2 separate regions of the Homo sapiens genome follow, and region 1 is linked to region 2. Evidence: promoter capture Hi-C in 16 types of primary human blood cells and fetal thymus (Javierre and others, 2016). All regions are on one chromosome and are shown on one strand. The core of a region is centred on a gene start or on the middle of the fragment in contact, and the rest is flanking DNA. Distances in the headings are between cores, read along the strand shown.

Region 1 (5,787 bases), core at 2,798-5,297, 460 kb after region 2:
GGTACTAAATACCACAGGCAATTGGAATACAACTGTATTAGTGTATCTAAACATATTTAAACATAGCAAAGGCAATGCCATGCACTATAATGTTAAAATGGCTGTGATATCACTAGACAGTAGAAAATTTTCAGCTTCATTAGAATGTTATGGGGCCACCATTGTATATGTGGTCTAAAACATCAATATGTAGCACATAACTGTACTTTAAATAAGCTCTAGGTTACTTATAATACCTCATCCAATGTAAATGATATGTAAATAGTTATTATACCATGTTGTTTAAGGAATATGACAAGAAAAAATGTCTGCATATGTTTAGTGCAGATGCGATTCAAAAAAATGTATTTTTGATCCAGGATTGGTTGAATCCACAGATGTATAACTCATGACTATGAAGGGATGACTGTGCTTTGTTTTTATAATTATGGTAATATAAACACATACACAAATTGTGGATCATTTAGATGACCACTTTATAACTGGGCACAGCCATGAAACCAAAACCTAAAGTCGAGGTTTTGAATTTTTAAAATTGAAAAATCTTTGTAGTCCTCATAGGTACTCTTGATAGTCCACAAGTGCCCAAATTTGAGAAACGTTTCTCAAATTCCTTTCAGCATTTAATATTGATTTAAAAATGTGATGCTCACTTGCTTTAAATGAAGCTACCAGCAGAAAGCAGCACACTGAAAAAAAAAAAGACAAAATTGCTTTTCCTCTATTAGGTTTGTGTGCTCAACTCCTATAAGCATCTTGAAAGAAGTAGAGCGATTTAGACGATAATGCATTTGACGTCTAAACCCAAGCAGTAACAGTGTTTGTGAAGGAAAACCTCCAGGAAGAGCTTGCTAAAATTTCTAACAAAATGATGTTAATCTATAGTGCTCTTTGTCAGCATGTAACAGAAGAGATGTCATAAACTCCGAGAGAAAAGAAAAGTCAAAACATTAAAAGGATTCGTGACATCAATGATACAGAAGCAAAGAATGTTAAACATTTCAAGGAAATACACTCCACAAACACAAAAGTCGCTCCCTTGTGGTTTCAAAATAATTGAACCTATGCAAAAATGAAGTTATTAATGAATGGACTGAACATTATTAAGAGCAATTTATCAAAAGAAAGATAGATTGCTGATCAGTTGCAGAATGAACATACTCCAAACGTAAAGATGGTTCAGAGTATTTGGACTAATCAATTGTAATAACTCAAAGCAGAAGGAAATAGATGGCAAGTAGAAAGACTAATATCTGTTGAGCTTCTAATGTGTGTTTATTTTAATCAAATAATTACTAAGATCATCTACTAATAACAATCATGGGTTCAAACTCTGTCTCTGCTAACAAATAGTTCAAAGCCCACAAATTTGTAAAGATCACTAAAAAAAAAAAGCAGAATTCAAAAATTGTCAAATACAGAATTCTTATTTTTGGGAGCCAATATAATTAGTTACCAATATTTATTTTTTGTTTGTTTTGGGGGTTTTTCATTTTATTTTTTGTTTTCTGGGTTTGTTTTTGTTTTGAGACAGGGTCTCACTCTGTCATCCTGGCTAGAGTGCAGCAGTGCAATTATGGCTCAGCCTTATCCTCCCCAGGCTCAGGTGATTCTCCCGTATCAGCCTCTGGAGTGGCTGGGACTACAGGCGTGTGCCACCATGCCAGGCTAACTTTGCTATTTTCTGTAGAGACCAGGGTTTTGCCATGTTCCCAGGCTGGTCTTGAACTCCTGGGCTCAAGGGATCCTCCCGACTCTGCCTCCCAAAGTAGAGGGATTACAGGCTTGAGTCACCAGGCACAGCCAGTTACCAACACTTAATTACTATATCGATGCTACTTTTGTGATCTAATTATTTGAGTTTTATTTAATTTGATCTGATATGTTGAGTATAATACAGACAATCATGAATTTGTTACCAAAATATTTAATGATTATACTTTTTCATTAAAAAAACTAATTTAAAATTCATAACTGAATAAGCATTTGTCATAAAATACATCATTATCCTATAATTAACTTCTTTCTTTTTAGCATATATGTGTTATTTCTAGACATATAACAGAGGGGATATGTTTTAATATTAAAATTATAACTTTAATTTTTTAAAAAAATCATATTTCTTTATGAATCAGTCCTTAAAAATTTTAGACTCTTTATGGCCCCATATATTCATTTCTGATCAAACACACCGAAAATAAAAACAAAAACCCAGATAAACACCAAAACTGCCCATCTAAGTTAGATCTGCCCCTTTCTCTCTTGCCAATAATGGAAAAATCACCAGCTTTCACAACTTTGCAGAAAAGGTCAAAAATAAACAAAAGAACAGGCCATGTGTTTTATTATGATGTTAACACAAATAAAAGAGAAAGCAAACATTTCTCCCTCTGCTTTCATAGTACACAAGATTAAAAGCAACAGCTGGCTTTGCCTTCCTAAAACTATCTATCATGTTCACAATTGCCTAACACTGACTTAGAGATAAACTGAGCTGAAGGTATACAGAGAGAAGGGTTCTATCATAATTGTGCCACGACTTCTGGCTGACTGAATTCTGTGAAACCTACAGCACACCCTCTGATATTCTCCCTCACCTCAGAGCAGTGTCTCAACACTTTACTAATTAGTGTACTAGCCTTGTGATTTTGCCATATCTAGGTGTCATCCATACTATTAATTTTCTTAATGTTTTCTATTAATTATTATAAAATTAAATACATTTGTTCTTAAGAAGCCAACTTTATGTTATATCATAAATAGGAAAGTAGTGTCTCCTGTCATGAATGTAATAGAAATAAAATACTAGTACATACTATCTGAATACTCTTGCCTATCAAAACTCTGAGCCTAAGGCCTCACATATCTTTTATAAAGGATAACAGCAAGTGTTACAGAATACTAAAAACTTGAAATAATCAAATAAGAGTTTCTTCTTGATGTATTTCACATTGGTTGAAAGGTAATTGTAAAAAGGAAATGCAAGATTCGAGTTTGGTAATAAAAAAGTCAGGATTGATAATGTTTTAGATTCGTACATTTCCAGGCACTTCAGAAAAATATCAATTTTATGTCAAGCTCCAAGACAACCCAGAATATCCCATCAGGCCTCCCCAAGGTTGGAGTGAAGTCTGCTGGAGGCATAATAGGTTTCATTATCCACAGACTCAGCTCTCCATCTGTCCGTATCATTCCTTTCTCCTGATATACAATTCTCTCACCATGTTTCCTTCAAGTTAAGAGGCTGTTAAATGTACACTGGCTACTATATTAGAGTAAGAGCAACTTATTGGGTATAAATAAAACTATGAAATTTGACAAAAATATAGTTTGGAATTTGCTGTTGTTTTCAGGTTTACTTCCATCCAATACTAGGCTGAGGTCAGTTATGTTTATTTTGTTTGCTTGTTTTCTTCCCAGTTGTATTAATTATTGAGCATTTAAGATCCAATTTTGTTTGCCTCCAAAGTTTGCCATTGATCAACATATAATTCAATTTCTACAAACAAATGATAAAACTTAACCGAACCAACTATGCCCAAACCACATCAGTTAACACCACTTGTCTGAATAGAATTCTTTTCATTCTCTAAGGCTCAACCCCAAAACATTTTCTCTTTACTTTCTCAATAAGAACTTTATTTCATTGTTGCAACACTCAATTTTTGTCCTTTTTTAAAAAATTATTTAAAAAATTATTTTTTATTTCATATTTCCCTGTAGTACCTATTATAATGTTTTGTATTAGAAACTAAATAATTGCTGAATTCATTTATGAATAAATAAATAGGAAGTGACTATATTTGAACCGAACACTATTAAAGACTTCCCAAACAATTATGTTGATTATATTAAAGAGAATATATATCTTGTTTTTTGCATAACAGTATATTGAATCTCTAATGAAAACAAGCTTTGAAAATATATTTAGGAGATTAACTTTACATTTTAAAATCCAATGTGTAGAATTTTTACAAATATGACAGTATTTTGTATAGAAATGTACTCCCTCCCTCAAAGGAAGAATGGAGAAAGTCATTGCTTTATCCTGATTCCATTTAATAAAATTTATATCGGTCCTCAGAGAATTTATTTATTTAATTAATTTATTTAATTTTATGTTAGTATTAAAACTAGCATAACTATGTCATATAATAGCAACTTATAGTCAATGTAGAGACTAAAGCTTTTAGAGTTGTTTTATAAAAGCAGATCTAACAAATACTTTTAAAATGTTTATCTTTTTAACTTAGCTATAATTTATTACTGAGTAAGATATAAATCAAAGTTAATCATTCTCTGTATTTTTATTGCTTTAAAAGGCATGTCTGAAATGGTGAATTATTTTCTCATTAGAATTTTAATCAATTACTAAAGTTCCATTTTATAATTTATTTATTTTTGTAGTCAATATTTAATCTGCTATTATGTGTTAAGCACTTCAAGTGAATAATGATTAATCAGTTTTCGTCCTTTCTGTTTAGTTGGGACTCTTGTTTTTAAGTAAAAGAAACACGTTTAATCATCTAAATAATAAAGCAGTTTAGTGGGGATTTGAAGGAATATGGGAGAGCAATTTCTAAAATATGGAAAAACAGCTCATAGAAAAACCAAAGGCAGAAACTGCCTAGAGCCACAGCTCATGGAAAAGTGAAGGTAACAGCTACCAGGGACCCAAGCTCCTATCTCCTAGAGGGTGATTCCTCTACCTTGCTCTGGATTTCTGATTTAAAATGGAATAAATGACACAGCAACACCCTTTACCTCACAGAAATCTTGATACATGCTTTGACTTCTGCTCTTGATGATGCCTCATTTTCTCAGTTACCCCGTTTGAAATTTCCAAAGAGAAATCTAATATCTAGGCTTACTTTTCCAAACCAGATTATTTAATTCAGAGGTCAAACCATGAGAGCCCACCCCTAAACATCCTGCACAATAAGGGCTTACTTGCTCAGCACACCCTGTGGGTTAGCAGGATCTCTTAAGTGTGACTGAGATTTCTTGAACATTTTCCTCCAAAAACTTCGGGTTTCTTGAGGTAGATAAGTACATCATCCAAAGTATTCTTTGCATATTCACAGGTAGAACCAAATTTCACTTTCTAGTTTTTTCAAATAGTATGTTAACATAATCATGTATGTTTTCTTATCTCACTTTACAAGTAAAATTCTTGTCAGATTACATACTGAATTCTATTCCTTAAGATATATTTCTTTTTTTCTTTTTTCTTTTACTTTAACTTCTGGGATACAAGTGCAGAACATGCAGGTTTGTTACATAGGTATACATGTGCCAGAGTGGTTTGCTGCACCTATCAAGCCATCATCTAGGTTTTAAGCCCCACGTGCATTAGCTATTTGTCCTAACGTTCTCCCTCCCTTCGCCCCCAAGCCCCTGACTGGCCCAAGTGTGTGTTGTTACCTTCCCTGTGTCCATGTGTTCTCATTGTTCGACTCCCACTTATGAGTGAGAACGTGTGGTGTTTGGTTTTCTGTTCCTGTGTTAGTTTGCTGAGGATGATGGCTTCTAGCTTCATCCTTGTCCCTGCAAAGGACATGAACTCATTCGTTTTTAGGGCTGCATAGTATTCCATGGTGTATATTACCACATTTTCTTTATCCAGTCTATCATTGATGGGCATTTGGGTTGGTTCCATGTCTTTGTTATTGTAAATAGTGCCGCAGTAAACATTCATGTGCATGTGTCTTTATAGTAGAATGATTTATAATCCTTTGGGTATATACCCAGGAATGGGATCGCCGGGTCAAATGGTATTTCTGGTTC
Region 2 (6,268 bases), core at 3,745-6,244:
TATCCTGTGTATAAATTGATATTCTTTCTGATGTACATTTTTAAATTCTGCATATTGATGTAGAAGATGAATTCACTGTCTTCTACCCTCACTGCCCGGCATGCTCACATGCAGTATGGTTTGATGCTAGTTTGAGAATGGCTTCGAGGGCAATTAGAGCATACGAAGTGATTTAGAAGCATTACAGTGGCTTTTAATTTTATAAGTAGAGGTATGATTTAAATTTTCAAGCAGTCTTTGGCTATTTACCACCTCTCTTATTTATCTAATAGTGAGGCAAAGAAATGAATGTTGCCAGAGGAAGTAATGCATTATTTCTAACTAGATCTGTTGTTATTATTACTTCCTTTGTAGTATGTCTCTTTTGAGTCAACAACCCTTCCTCTCACTGGTACTTACCTGCCTTAAGGGACAAGATGAACAAAGGGAAGGCCTCCTAACATCTCTCCAGAATCAAGTTAACCAGGTAAAGTATAGTATAATATTAAGACAGGCAAATATCTTTCTAACGGCATTCATTTATTTGCCTTTCAAATACTGAGATTAAATTAATAAGGGCCAGGTGTGGTGGCTCATGCCTGTAATCCCAGCACTTTGGGAGGCGGAGGCTGGTGGATCACCTGAGGCCAGGAGTTCGAGACCAGCCTGGCCAACATGGTGAAACCCCGTCTGTACTAAAAATACAAAAATTAGCCGGGCATGATGGTGTGCGCCTATGATCCCAGCTACTCGGGAGGCCAAGGCAGGAGAATTGCTTGAACCTGGGAGGCAGAGGCTGCAGTGAGCTGAGATCGCGCCATTGCACACCAGCCTGGGAAACAATAGTGAAACTCTGTCTCAAAAAAAAAAAAAAAAAACAACTAGTAAGGTTACAAAATGTTTTGAGTAGACGCTGAGAAACAATCCATGCCTTATTCTTCTACCTGGCATTGTAGACACCACAAGATTAACAACTTTATATTAATGAGATATATACAATAAATGTGTACTGCCTATAAAAGTAAAATTTTATATATTGCATATAACTTTGAACTATCTGCCCGTCTCCTAACTCTGCCTCATAGGAGAGGACCTGGAGCAATCTATGCTGCAGTAGGCATGGCAGTGAGTCCAGCTCCTCAAGCTTGGATGCCACATTATCAGGCACGCTTTCAGCTTGAAATCTGTAGGTTCAGAAACTCAGTTGTATTGATGCCAACCAAGTACACAAGAAATAAATCAGAAGGCATGTTGGTTTATTTAGAAATAATTTGGACATTGCCTTTTCACCAAACACAGTTCTCCTGGTCACTGTTTGAGGCTCTTGCATCTATGTACTATAAGGAAACTGAGCATTCACAACAGAAATTGGAGAGCATGGAATTAAGCAAAGTGGATAGATTGGTCTTATGAGGTGTTTTATCCTGATACACAGCCTAATTGACCCCTTCTTGTGGCACTGTGTTTCTATGACACCATGTCTTTCCCTCGAATGGTACTAGATGGACATGGACAAGGACACTTAATCTTATTTGATCCTCTTGTCATTTCTCACCTTTTGGGTAGGAGAGATCTAGATATAGCAATCATAGTGAACCTTTTTAAATGGAAGTCACATATTACCTCAGTATACCTAGTATAAAAAATTCGGGCTGATAAGGCCAGACATGATTTGACACTGGCTCTCTCTCCTACCTTGTCTCCTACCAGTCATGGCCCTCTTTCCTCCATGGTTGTTGCACTGGCCATGTTACTGTTCTTGAACTTGCTGAGCAAATTCTCATTTCAGTGCCTGTGCATCTTTTCTTCCCTTTAGGTGGAAAGATTCCCTTCCAGAGATTAGCATGGCCTGCTCCCTTCATTCAGTTCTCTGTTAAGATGTTACCTCCTTCGGGAGGCCTTTGATCACCTCTAAAAATAGGACCACAGCCATTCTGTATGCCATTGCCATGCCTCAAACCACTTGTTACACTTAGTTTTATTTGTCCCACTACTATTATTTGAGCTCCATGAGAGCTTGTTGTTTAGTTAACTACCTTGCCCCCTTAAGCCAGCCTTAGGGAGGGGTTCATTTCTTCTGATGAGATTTGGGAAGTGCTTTCCTCTCACCTTGCAGGGTACTTACAGGTCATCTGTTGGGATGGAGTACTTCTGCATGTGACTCATTTGAACTCTTTTAAGATGACTCTCATTAATGACCATATTTCAGAGCATGATAGGGTTTTTGTTAGTGGTTTTTTGTTTTTGTTTTGAATTGCACTTTTTTTTTGCTCATCTCATCTGATTTTAGGGTGTTGCCCACTTGTGGCTCCCTTTCCTAAGCAAATTTTTCCTTTTCCAGCATTAGTGTGAGTCAGTGAGGAAGTGAAGAAGCAGCCCACTTTATAAACTGATAAAGCCACTTGGCTGATGTCTGCAATGCCATATTTTTCAAAGTACCGTGCGTTCTCTTTATCAAGGAAGACACATACATAAGATAGCAGACCTTCTCTTCTATAAAACATCAAAATAATACATTTGCTAGGGTTCAGCAAGTCCCTAGAAATATAACAGGACTGAGGCAAAATGTAATTCTCTCTCTCCAGTGTTTTTCTTCGTAAGATCAATGAGGTAATGTATTTTAAAAGTTTTTATTAATGCTTAATTTGATGGCCCTCTCAAGCATTTTCCCAGACTTAATCATAGGCTAGCTATATAATTATATAAGATTTTCTTCCTCCACCTAGAACGGCAAATGCACAAATAAATAGCCAGATTTCTTTCTGCATGGAGGAAGAAGAAAGCTAAAATTTTATTTAGCTTTGTTTGTTAATTTGTTAAAGATAAGAAGTGGTTTTTTGCTATCAGTATAAAGCTCAATTTATCTTTAAATGAGAGAAAAATTAAACTTTAATGGGGAGTTTTTTTCCGGATCTTAGATTTTAAGTAACTGGAGAGAAGAACGATACCAAGATGACATAAAAGCGCGGCAGATGATGCACGAAGCATTGCAACTCCGCCTAAATTTGGTAAGTGACATTTCTAGTATTTTCCCTCCATTAAACATATTTACATGTGAAAATACCTCCAGCTTTCCACTTCTCCTAAGTGCAAAGTCTGCATTACAAGGTGAGGCCTTCCACTCTTTGCTCTCTGTAATTACTTCCCTGTTTCTAAAGCCTTCTGTTTCCCTTGCTGCTTTCCTTCCTGTCTGGTCAGACATCTAGACAGTGCTAGGTATTTTAAGCATAGATTTGCCTTCTCTACCTCTACCCCAGTGAATCTCTCCTTCTCTTCAGTTTGTGCTAAGAATAAATCTGAGAAGACTGTTATAAGTGTTAGCTTCTACTATACTTACTTAAAACCATTTAAAAAGTCTTTTAACTCAAAGTTTTGTCCAACTTTCCATCAAATTGATTATAAAGACAAATCCCACAGAGAAGTTTTATAGAAATTTAAAATGTCTCACATATTGTGCATTCCTTGAGTTTTCTTTTCCCATCAGGCAGGCCCAAGTGCAGGCCCCTCTGGAGGATGGCCTGCCTGATACTTTTGCAGTTGTTTCTAACCTTGTCCCAACACGTGAACTGGTAGGTGTGCGGGCCAAGCCTCCTGCCCACCACTGCTGTGATAGTGGATGTTTCCATATGGTATTATGATAGCAGGCTTAGATTCAATAGTAATTGTACAGCAAACACAAAGATGCAGATAATTGGATTACATGACTTTGACATTATTCAGGTTTAATTCAACTATAATTGCATCATAAAACTGGACATCATAAAAGATTTGGAACAAAAGAAAGCTAAGTTTATTGGTGCCCACATTCAGATACTCACGTCCCTTCTTCATTTTAGTTAATGTTTGAATGACTGAACTGTGCTGAAAGAACTAAAAATAGTGATAAACATGTAGGTAAAAGAGAAAAGATAAGGTAATCTATAAACTAGAGCATCCCTTGTTTTTTTAAATAAAAAACAATCAAAATTTGATAACATAAAGCAATGGGGTGTTCTTTCTGTTTTACAGAATGCAAATATCTTACTGTATTTTGTCTGCTAGGTAGGAGGAATGTTTGACACGGTGCAGAGGAGCACCCAGTGGACTACAGACTGGGCCCTGCTACTCCTTCAGATCATTACTTCAGGAACTGTTGACATGCACACTAACAAGTATGTTTTTATCACTTCACATTGATTTTGCTACATGTATGCATGGTATAAGCTTTGATATACTGATGGCGATTTCTGCCACATCTTATTTACTTGGATGCTATTAAAAATTCTGTGCCTTGAATAAAAATACTCAGTTAAATAAGTGTATTTCAGTTTCACTTTAAGATGAAAATAATTATTTTCTTTCTTAGTGAATTATTCACAACAGTTCTTGACATGCTGGGTGTTTTAATCAATGGAACGTTAGCCTCTGACCTATCAAATGCATCCCCTGGGGGATCTGAAGAGAACAAGCGTGCATACATGAATTTAGTAAAGAAACTGAAAGTAAGTTTGAGATCAGCCTGTATTATGAGCTCAAGTTGTTTATGGATTTATTATCTAGTGCATTTTAATTTATTACTCATTAAATGTTATTAATTGTATTCAACTTAATTTAATGTGATTATTTGCTATTTGTTTCACCTAACCTTATTAGTACCCAGAAGTTACATGCACATAACCTTGATTATTTTTTATTGAAAACAATTACATTATAAAACATGTTTAATTTTTTAAAGAACTTTAGAAATCCACTGTTAAATATATAACCAGAATACTAACATTAGATAGATTTAGGATAACTCTATGCTTGGACTGGCACGTGTAATTGAAAAAATAGCCATCTGCATTGAAATTTATAAATCGATTCATTTGACCGACCACTAACAGACTCCTTTAAAAAAAAATTGTAAGAAAACAGTGCAAAAAAGAAACCAAATAAATCTGATGCATTACCAATCAAATAAATCAATGGTTACCTTGTAATCTGACCCTGGACATGAGAAAGTGTTCTGTTCTGCAGCTCCTGTCTTCTGATTGTGATCACTACCCTGGATTTTTGTCATTTCAGCACTATGATGTTTGTTGTGTAACAACAGTGCCTTTGTATGTGTTCTATTTTCTACTTAAATAGAAGAAATGAAACACTCATTGCTCTATTTGGAACTGCCTTGTAGAACATGTTCAGGGTTAAAGAACATGCGCTAAGCTATAAAAAGGGAAATGTTTCATAGGGGAACTTCCTTCTGGTTAACTTTTGCCTTCATTGTAATTTCTGTCCCACTTCTCACTCTCTCTCTCTCTCTTTTTTCTTTAGAAAGAGCTAGGAGACAAGCGATCAGAAAGTATTGACAAAGTTCGACAGTTACTACCTTTGCCGAAACAGACATGTGATGTCATCACTTGTGAACCTATGGGTTCCTTGATTGACACAAAAGGAAACAAAATTGCTGGATTTGACTCTATAGATAAAAAACAGGCAAGAGTGAATGTTTTTTCTTATATATAAATTTATTTACAAAAGATGAAATACTTTTTTTTGTCTTACCATAGGATATATAAAATATATTAATTTTGCTGTTGATGTTTTTAAGGCATATGCTTGTCTTCTAAGTGTACTTAGTCATTGGCATTATCATATAAAGAGGTCATATCTTTGAAGATCTACGTTTTATATGTTTAAAGGACTTAAAATGTTTCCCTGAATTTAAGTAAATTTTTGGAAACCTACCAAGAGAAAACTAAGTAAAAGCTTAGTGTAAAAAAAAAATTGCATAAATAAGTTCTGATTATACTTCAGATTTAGAAGCAGAATATATTTATCAATGAAAAATTTCTTGTAAGCTGAGCATGGTGGCACATGTCTTTAGTTCCAGCTACTTGGGAGGCTGAGGCAGGAGGATTGCTTGAAGCCAGGAGTTTAAGGCTGCAATGTGCTAGGCTCATGCCTGTGAATAGCCACTACACCCTAGCCTGGGCAACAAAGTGAGACCCTGTCTCTGGGGGGGGAAAAAAAAAAAAAAACCTTCCTGTAGTAAGCTATTTCAAATAAAAATTATTTTAATTGTTAGGATATTCTCTATTCCTATCAAGCAGTATTTAATGGACATTTGTTTTATATAAGATATTAAAGATGGTTCTCTAAAATATGAGAAAATTGGTCAGTTACTCTTTTAATGAACAGTAAGCAACCACCGACATTCCACAATCACCAAGATGAAAGACAGAGTTCCTACCCTCAAGGGGGAAGTAGACAGACAATTACAGTGTAATGAGATTTGTGTGACATGGTACAGAGAGAGTATTAGGGGATA

What was found. The method cuts DNA at HindIII sites, captures the fragments that hold promoters and counts their contacts. A CHiCAGO score of 5 or more calls a contact.
Region 1: a contact is called between a fragment that was not itself captured here and the fragment with the promoter of P2RY12 in region 2, in 1 of 17 cell types (megakaryocytes). The highest score is 7.8, in megakaryocytes.

What each region holds. Positions count from the first base shown.
Region 1 is chr3:151,841,042-151,846,828 of GRCh38, forward strand. The region is part of intron 1 of AADACL2-AS1 (AADACL2 antisense RNA 1); the gene reads right to left. Among named protein-coding and RNA genes, the nearest start is that of SUCNR1, 30 kb to the right of the region's middle. The HindIII fragment of the contact is 273 bases long and covers 3,912-4,184 here.
Region 2 is chr3:151,379,759-151,386,026 of GRCh38, forward strand. It overlaps P2RY12 (purinergic receptor P2Y12), which reads right to left and starts at 4,995. Exons shown (of 3, transcript NM_022788.5): 1 at 4,934-4,995. MED12L (mediator complex subunit 12L) reads left to right here. Exons shown (of 45, transcript NM_001393769.1): 32 at 355-466; 33 at 2,898-2,987; 34 at 4,021-4,130; 35 at 4,325-4,460; 36 at 5,272-5,433. The HindIII fragment of the contact is 1,524 bases long and covers 4,181-5,704 here.